2 separate regions of the Homo sapiens genome follow, and region 1 is linked to region 2. The links are contacts of gene promoters, found by promoter capture Hi-C in blood cells and fetal thymus (Javierre and others, 2016). All regions are on one chromosome and are shown on one strand. The core of a region is centred on a gene start or on the middle of the fragment in contact, and the rest is flanking DNA. Distances in the headings are between cores, read along the strand shown. Region 1 has its middle 100 kb from the start of MAP3K7. Region 2 holds the start of ANKRD6 (ankyrin repeat domain 6).

The links. The method cuts DNA at HindIII sites, captures the fragments that hold promoters and counts their contacts. A CHiCAGO score of 5 or more calls a contact.
Region 1: a contact is called between a fragment that was not itself captured here and the fragment with the promoter of ANKRD6 in region 2, in 4 of 17 cell types (fetal thymus, total B cells, total CD4 T cells and 1 more). The highest score is 6.8, in fetal thymus.

What each region holds. Positions count from the first base shown.
Region 1 is chr6:90,481,760-90,486,361 of GRCh38, forward strand. No RefSeq gene overlaps it. Among named protein-coding and RNA genes, the nearest start is that of MAP3K7, 100 kb to the right of the region's middle. The HindIII fragment of the contact is 3,323 bases long and covers 1-2,956 here.
Region 2 is chr6:89,431,193-89,435,963 of GRCh38, forward strand. It overlaps ANKRD6 (ankyrin repeat domain 6), which reads left to right and starts at 1,960. Exons shown (of 16, transcript NM_001242809.2): 1 at 1,960-2,183. LOC124901360 (a long non-coding RNA gene) reads right to left here. Exons shown (of 2, transcript XR_007059675.1): 1 at 2,225-4,771; 2 at 1-1,395. RefSeq lists a silencer at 1,752-2,231. The HindIII fragment of the contact is 1,573 bases long and covers 1,188-2,760 here.

The DNA of each region.
Region 1 (4,602 bases), core at 45-2,544, 1.0 Mb after region 2:
ATCTAGAAACACAATTTTTAAACTATCAGAACTCAGTAAGGAGGGACAAGTAGGGATAAGCAGTGACTGACCACCTGTTAACATCATCCTGATACCTAAATAAAAGTGATGTAAAACACCATGGGGTGAATGTGCCTTCATAATAAGTTATGCGGCTTTGGCTGGTTTGTTTGGCCACCTCGCTGGACTTACTCAGACTTTGGATTTTCAGAAATATTTTATATACAATTATGCCTGAGAATGTTCCTAGCATACTGCTGACTGGTTGTTAAGCATGTGCAGAAATAGCATCCCACAACAACAATGTGAGGAAGGGAAGGTAATATCTTTTCCTCACTCATGGAATGAGGGCCTTCGGACCTACTTCAGAGGAAGGTCAGAGAATTCTTTCATGGCCTGCTTCAGGGGAGAATGGCAGGAAAAGGTCAAAGAGACCTTCCTGCTTCTGTTTTCTTAAATGCTGAGGTGCTATGTATTGCGGTAGCATGTCTTGAGCCTCATCATCATCAACAACAACCACCACAACAACAATAATAGTAAATAGCAGCTACCAAGTGTTGATTGCTTACTATGTTCTAGACACCTTGTCATGTGATGGTCTTTCCCATTTAGTTCTCTGTTGATATGGTTTGGCTCTGTGTCCCCACCCAAATCTCACCTTGAATTGTAATCCCCATAGGATCACCACATGTTTAGGGAGAAACCTGGTGGGGAGTGATTGGATTATGGGGACAGTTTCCCCATGGGCCTCGCTGGTGATAGTGAGTGAGTTCTCACGAGATCTGATGATTTCATAAGAGGCTCTTCCCCTTTCACTCATTTGCTGTCTCTCTTGCCTGCCACCATGTAAGATGTGACTTTGCTTCTCTCTCACCTTCCACTATGATTGTAAGTTTCCTGAGGCCTCCCCAGCCATGCGGAACTATGAGTCAATTAAACCTTTTTCCTTTATAAATTACCCAGTCTTGGGTATGTCTTTATAGCAGTGTGATAATGAACTAATACATCTATCTTCTTTTATCTCAGGTAAATATTCCATTTCTGCCAAGATGCCCACCAACCAGTGCATGCCAAGACTATGAGGCACCATGAATCCCTGGCTGGCTCACATGAAGGCAAATCCCCTTCAGGACCAGGAAGGCCCAGGCCACTTTGTCCAAAGGTGGTCCAGTTCCAGATACTCAGGTCTTCTTTAGATGTCACCTTCTCTTGACCTGCTTTCTCTTGGCCTAGCACCTCTTTCAGTCACCACCGATATCACTTGCTTTCAGATTCAGATATCTAAAGACCCTCCCCTAGGGCATAACGTCCCGTCTCATCCATCTTTATGAAGATAGTGCACAGTGGGGGTGGGGGGTACTTGAAAGACCTGGGCTTTCAGATTGTGCAGACCTGGGTGTGAGCTGGGCTCCACTGTGTGCCAGCTGAGATTGAGTGATTTGCTGAACTGCTCTGCACTTCAAGTTTCTCATCTGTTAGCAGGGATTTAAAATCTGTTTTGCAAGGATGTTGTGTGGAGATGAAATGTGACATCTATGTGATGCATGCAAACAGTCCCTGGCACATAATCATTGCTTGATGCCATGACTCAGAGGCTCTGCCTGGGCCCTTGCCCAAGCTCTTCCATCCTTTTTATGTCCCTTAGTATCTTTCTTAGCTCCTATCATAGGAGATATCTGGGCAAGCACCAGCCCCATCCCACAATTTCTACCTCCTTCCTCCCCACTTTCACCCTCCAATTCTGGGTCCGTGGACTTAGTTACATACTAGTCAGCTCTCTGCCAGCCCTGAGGGCCTGGCTGGACTCCTGCTGGATGGGACCCTGTGCCTCGGGTGCAGGGAGGATTTGGACAGTCTTCTAGCAGCCTCTGCACCATTGGCCACGGAGTTGAGGGCAGTGGATCCCTATGGTTCATCTCAGTTGCTGTGCCATCACGACTGGGGGGCAGGGCGGGGAGCGAGTGGATTAGATCTCAATGTTCAAGTGTGGTCTGTAGACCGGCAGCACTGGCGTCACCTTGGAGCTTGTTAGAAATGATAAATCTTGGCCCACTGAATCAGAATCTTCATCTTAACAAGATTTCCAGTCATTCCTTCTGAGCCCTGGGTTAGCCCCCAGTAGGCAAGTGCCCCTCAAGTCACTACACAGGAGAACTGTGGACAAGGTAATTCTTCCCTCCAGGGTCAGCAAAGGTATCTGCAAATCCTTTAGTAGGGGTGTATGTGTTTAAAACACTCACAAAGTCTAATTTATTTATGCAGGAATCATTTTTAAATTTCTTTCCGGATTGTTAAGGTAAACCTTTGAATCCTCAGACCGATATATGATGTAGGATGTGGCTGGCCTTGCTTCACGTATAGAAGTCACACCCCACAATAACAATGTAGGGGAGGGAAGGTCATATCTTTTCCTCACCCATGGAACGAGGGCCTTATGACCTACTTCAGAGGAAGCTCAGAGAATTCTTTTACGGCCTGCTTAGGTTAGCGGGCCTGTGCCCATGCCATTCAGTAAAGTCTCCCGGAACCATACCCACTCTGACGCTTTCTCATTACGGAGACAGAATCACACACACAGACACACACACACACACACACACACACACACAGGCCATGACATGATGTTTTCCACCCCAGAACCTGTGCTTATATGTTATCTCTTCTGCCTGGAATGTCCTTGCTGTCCTTTGGGTGAATTTTAGTCATCCTTTAAGTTTCATTTAAAGAGACAGCTCAGCCACAGTGCCCTATGTAAGATGGCTGTGTGATGGTGTTTCTGCTGTTACCACGTTGCATTCCAGTGTTCTGTTGATGGTGTGATCACCTCCTGGAAACACTGAACTCAGTGAGGGCAAGGTCTGTGTTGTATTTATTCATCTTTGTATCTCCTACACCCAGCACAATGACAGGCACGCTGGAGATGCCCCATAAATGCTTATTGCATACACAGAAAAAAAGCTTAGCTTGCTATGATGGCTTTTCATTTCGTCCTTTGAAGTTTAATCAGAATAAAAGAAAATAACTGCAGACTCTAAACGTTTGTAAAGTTTCTGTAAAACCTTACAACCCAAATGGAAAAAAAAAAAGATCAAAGGGAAATTAGACAGCAATTTGTTTTAAAAAAAATGTAGTGGCATTTTAATTAGAGAATATTCTTCTCATTGAAATGAGAAACTCCCAGGGAAATACTTGATATGTTAGAGTCTCCCTCCTCACATTTTTTTCTCCAGCTATTATGGGACCTGCTGAGCAGGCTTTGTGAAGGAAAGCTCCTAGGATGCTGCACAATGAAGACACTCAGCACTTACACAGCGCTCTGCTCTTGCCACAATTAAGCCTTTCACTTCTCCCGGCCCTGCAGCGGGGGAAACCCGAGTTATTTACTGAATTTGCTGGCTAGAAGGCCCTGAGGATAAATGACTTGTTCGAGCCTAGGCAACTGGACTGTCACAGGCAGAATTCAGAGTTTTGGACCTGTTTCTTATGTCAAGCAGTTTGTTCTGACCTCAGAAGGGAATCCCTTTTTAATAAGCAATGCACATGGACCCCAAAGAGTCCCCAGAAGGTGGTCGTTTGGAGGGGATCACTGGATATCACAAATCGGTAACATTTTTGAAACTCAATATGGGGATGACTGTAGGATTGCCATCTTTTAATCTTGCTAATTAGGAATATGAAGAAAATATATGGCCGGAATTATGCCTTAAAGAAAATAAATGTCTTATACTAAAAAATAAGGAATTGTTTCAGAATAAAGCCCAGGTTTTTTTTATTGAATATATTTAGTTTTATTAAAAACACAGCACATTGTAGTTATTTTTATCGTTTTACAGGAGACCAATGAAAACTGGCAGTTTAGTGTTTGGGAACCACTGTTTTTAACTAAATATGCTAGATCCATATTTTCTGTAGAAACCCCAAAGCCAACCTTCTCTAGCAGAAAAGTGAGTTAAGATTCACCTGCTGGCATTCCACGCCCAGGGCAGTCACCCACTTCCTCTTTCCACAACTGTGGAAGTAGGCGTTACTTGACATTCTGAAAGTACGTCAGAAAGTAATCCTGACAGCACTTTCTGTAATTGGTGTGTTGTTGCTGTGCTTCATGCTCACTAGAGAGAGAAGATGGAAGACTAAGGAAGCCTCGATGCAATCTTTCCTACTGAGTTTTAGGTAGGAGTAGGTGATACAGTTTGTCTGTGTCCCCACACAAATCTCATCTTGAATTGTAACTTCCACAATTCCCAAGTGTTGTGGGAGGGACCTGGTGGGAGGTGGTTGAATCATGGGGACAGGTCTTTCTTGCACTGTTCTCATGATGGTGAATAAGTCTCACAAGATCTGATCATTTTATAAAGAGGAGTTTGCCTGCACAAGCTCTCTCTCTTTGCCTGCTGCCATCCATGTAAGATGTGACTTGCTCCTCCTTGCCTTCTGCCATGATTGTGAGGCCTCCCCAGCCATGTGGAATTGTAAGTCCAAAAAACCCCCTTTTCCTGTATAAATTGTCCAGTCTTGAGTATGTCTTTATCAGCAGTGTGAAAGCAAAGCAAAACTTTTGAGCTGAGGATTTTATCCTTTGGTGTACTATACTCCACAGGGGAA
Region 2 (4,771 bases), core at 710-3,209:
GTGGTGGCAGGCGCCTGTAATCCCAGCTACTTGGGAGGCTGAGGCAGGAGAATTGCTTGAAACCGGAAGGTGGAGGTTGCAGTGAGCCGAGATTGCACCACTGCACTCTAGCCTGGGCAATAAAAGCAAAACTCCATCTCAAAAAATAAAAAGAAAGGTCATGTGTACAAACTTTGACTTTGAGGGTTATCTAGGAACTCATTAGTAACCTGCCTGGAGAGAAACCTGGAGCTACAAGCCAGCAGAGAAAGGAAATGTGTTCTTCTATCAGCTCCAGGTGTAGAGCAACAGGAATGGGGCACAAATCTGAAGAAGGGCTGGGCGCGGTGGCTCACACCTGTAATCCCAACACTTTGGGAGGCTGAGGCCGGAGGATTACTTGAGCCCAGGAGTTCAAGACCAGCCTTGACCTCCTCTGTGTTAAACATAAAAAAATTAGCTGGGCATGGTGGTGCACACTTGTAATCCCAACTATTCAGGAGGCAGAGGCAGGAGGATTGCTTGAGCCCAGGAGTTCAAGACTGCAGTGGGCTACTGCACTTCAGCCTGGGTGACACAGCAAGGCCCCATCTTAAGGGGGAAAAAAAAGTCTGGAAAAGGCCAAAGGATACTCAGAAGAGAGATTTCACATCCTGTTAGGTAAAACTGCAGCTGTGACTATGGGGTTGGGAAAATTTCAGAAGCAGTAGGAGAAAATCAAGAACTTCCCCTTCCTAGTGTGGAAACAGGCTCTTGGGATCTCTCCTGCCTAATGATCCCTGAAGGAGAGAGGGAAACAAACATCTTAAGGAAAAGGAAGAAATCATCATGTTTCTTTTCTCCTGGAAACCAGGCCTGTTTCAGAGGGAATAAGAAAAGTCGGCTGGGTGCAGTGGCTCATGCCTGTAATCCCAGCACTTTGGGAGGCCGAGGCTGGAGGATCACGAGGTCAGGAGTTCGAGACCAGCCTGACCAATATGGTGAAACCCCATCTCTACTAAAAATACAAAAATTAGCCAGGGATGGTGGCGGGCACCTGTAATCCCAGCTACTCAGGAGGCTGAGGCAGGAGAATCACTTGAACCTGGGAGGCGGAGGTTGCAGTGAGCCTAGATGGTGCCATTGCACTCCAGCCTGGGTGACAGAGTGAGACTTCGTCTCAAAAAAAAATTTTAAGCAAGAAAGAAAAAAAAATCAGATTCGTGATAAGCTTGTCCCAAAACCTCAGGTAAGATTGATAGTCCATTTTAGGGTGCTGCTTGCCTCCTCTTCCATCTCTCCGCCTTTGGAGAGCAGATACCTGTCCATGCTTCTTCAAAGGGTGGAATGAGATCCCATCCATCTTACATGTATTCAACAGTAGCTTATTGAATGCTTCCTGTGTTCAGGGAGCTCTTCTAGGTATTGAAGAAGTGGCTGTGAATGAAAATAGACAAAACCAGACTGAGATAATGGTATGTAAAGTGTGATATGAATATGGGGGTCAGGCTCGCTCAATGCTTTTGCCATTTCCATATGGGATGATTCCAACAAGATACTTATAGTCAAGCTGTTAGAAATAAAGGCTTCCTTTCCCCTCTCCAGCTACCCCAATAAATCTGGGTCATTCATCATTGTTGTTCAGTTTGTACTGAGCAGCCCCAGTTAAGTGAGCTATGGTTATATTGAAATATCCACTTGGCCACGAATTGAGTGAAGGTGGGAGGTTCCTCCTGCTAATTCTCCTCCCCTCCCAATACACTTCCTGGCAACCCCCACGCGGAAAACCTCACCCTACTATAGGCCCCCTTCCTCCCACTCTTCAGAAGGCGGTGGCCCCACCCAGGAGAGGGCTGCAGATCGGGGCCAGCCCCAGGGCCTCCGCGGTGCCACCTCTCTCTCGCGAGGGTCCCTGCCGTGCCCCGGCTCGCCGCTGGGAGGCGCTGCGGCACCGGCGTAGGAGCCGCCGGCAGGGGTGGGGCGGGGCCGGCGGGACGGGGCAGAGGGCCCTGCGGCGGCGGACGCGGCGGGCTCGGCCACAGGTAACCCGCAGGAGCCGAGAGCGCTGCCTGGCGCGCGGGCGGCTGGAGGCACGGCGCTGGGCGGCGCCGAGGCCCTGGGGCCGCCGGAGCCAGCGGGAGCCAGTCCCCGTCTTCGCCCCTCGCCCCCCACCGTGTCGCCGGCCTTGGTCCCTGCGGCGCGGACGTCCGGCGCGGGAGAGAAAGGTACCAGGCGACCTCGCCGGCTCCCTGGGACCCCCGCTTACACCGGGGTGGGCGCCTCAGGTCGGGGAGGACGCTGTCGGGGGAAGGGGGCGCTGCTCCCTCGGCACCCCAGGATCGCCGACTGCCCGCGGAGGAGACCCGGACACCGCGCCTCGCCCCCTGGCCTGCGGCCTCCGAAAACGCCCGGCGCGAGGGGGTCCCCCCGGGGCGCCTCCCTCTTCGCCTGGCATCAGTTGCCTCCCTGGAATATGGAACTTCGGGCGAGGGAGGTGGAGAACTTTCTTCTGGGGCTCGTCCCTCGTTCTCCTGCTCGCTTGCAGTTTGAAGGAAGGGCGGTGGGGGCGGGGGTCCGAGTACCCCGCGGTCTGCGGCGCGTAGGAGGGTAGGTCCCTGGCCTGCGGCCGCCTCCGAATGACCCCGTCCCTCCCCGCCCTGGACGACAGCACTAGGGTGCAGTCGCAGGAGAGGGGCCGATACCCCTCAGGAGCCCCATCGGCGAAGCCTCAGCAAGTGGCATCTCCCGGGGTCCAGAGAGTCGGCGTGCTGTCTGGTTTGGGTCCAGACATCAGCTCACCCAAGCTTATCTTGGGCTTTTAAGTGTGTTGCTTCCGGTAGATCTCGGGGACTGGAGGGGAAGTGCAGCATTATTTGTGACCCAAGAGGGACTTGAATGTCTCAAAGCTGGTCAAGAATGTTTCCCCCGCGAGGTAGCATGAGATGGGTCACGTGGTAGTAAAGAGCCACTTCGGGCCCGTGAGATGGAGTTCTGACTCCACCACTTGTTAGGTGTGTGACTTTGGAAAACCCACTTCTTTAAACCTTAGTTTTTAGAACTCTAAACTGCAGGTATTGTACATAACCTCGTAGTATTGTGTTCATGCAGTGAAGTGATGGGAATGAAATGCTTGGCATTGTACTCTTGTGTGTTAGACACCTTTTGCGAACCTGTTGGATGTTGAATTCATTCATGCTTAGGTTCTGTTAGGCCAGTGTAAGTGGAAAGAACTTGGGCAATGAAGACAAACACACCTGGGTCCAAGGTGGTCCCATCCATGGTATACTGATTGGGGGTTTCTCATCCCCAAAACACCAATAGCAGCCTTGGCGGGGTTTTTGTTGTTGTTGTTTTGAGACAGAGTTTCGCTCTGTTGCCCAGGCTGTAAGCTTTGACCTCCTTAGCTCAACCGATCTTCCCACCTCAGCCTGGGACCACCACACCTGGCTAATTTTGAATTTTTTTATTTTACTAGAGACAGAGTCTCACTGTGTTGCCTAAGCTGGTCTCGAACTCCTCCTGTCTCAGCCTCCCAAAGTGTTGGGATTACAGGTGTGAGCCACTGTACTGGTCTGCAGCCTTGTTCTTGAGTGTAGTAGGTGTGTCTATACCGATACATGTTACACTTTGTCATCTTTAGTATTTGTTTAGCATATGGTAACAAAAAATTTTTTAAAAATTAGGGATACAAATTAAAATTGGGGAGTATTTTCTGCCCTCTAGGTCATACTGGACATGGGGGAAGGGTAGAAGAGGGATGAAGAGGAATTAAAGAGACCAGAAAACAACTAGTCGCAGTGTTGGGAGGTATAAACCAATGGTAATTTTTAAAAATGTGAATTTATTAACTCCTTGTTTTTTCATGGTGGCACCAAAAATTAATCTTAGTCTCCCACTTAAACTCATCAGCCTCCCCAAAGCCTTTCCAGATAAGCATATGCTCCATGTAAAAGCAGACTGCCTGCGATCCAACTCAGCTTAGAGACAAGGCACACTTCCAACTCCCAAGGCCTCCTTCTTGTATAGAGATGCTGGTGCTGCCACTGTGAAATACATCATACACTCAGACAGTATAAACCTTAGAGTGCAATGTAAAGAATAACAATAGATCACACCCAAGTACGAGTCACCCGGCTGAAGAACTAGAACATCGCCAGGCCCCTGGAGCCCCTGAGTACCCCTCTCCATTGCCTTCCACTCACTTCTCGCCTCCCACCCAAGGAACCACTATTCTGGATGTTGTGTTAACTTTTTCCCTTGCTTATATGAAAAACCCTGAGGAAAGGAAGTTTCCCAACAAGCATTTCCACAATAACCTGGAGCATTCTTTATTTTTCTTTTTTTCTCAAGGAGCATTGTTATTGAACTTAAAAGCAGGCTATTGAGGGTAAGATACAAACCACAAAAAAGCCGAAAGTCTCAAAGTCGGGGGATCTTTTAGTCTCTGTCTTCTTCCAAGTTTCTCCTGTCTCCCTGGCACGGATCCCGAAGGTGTGTTCTGTCTGTGTAGGGGAGACCCAGTCTCTTCCAACATAGATTGATGGCTGTGATTTTAAAAGCTTTGCTTGAGTCCCTAAGAAGTGGGAAAACAGTAATTTGGGTGCGTGCGTTTTAGAAGTTTTTTTAAAAATGCAAATTATCCAGAAGGCATTGTGTGGGATTTGAAGGATTAAGCTAAGAGTGACCTTTAAAAATGGTTTTAACAACCCAAATTCCTCTTCCTGGTTGATATGTTTGTGTTATTGTCTTTGTTTTATTTCTTCAAGGTCACATGGCTTTCCTTGGTGAATCTTACACTGTTTTGTTACTTCTT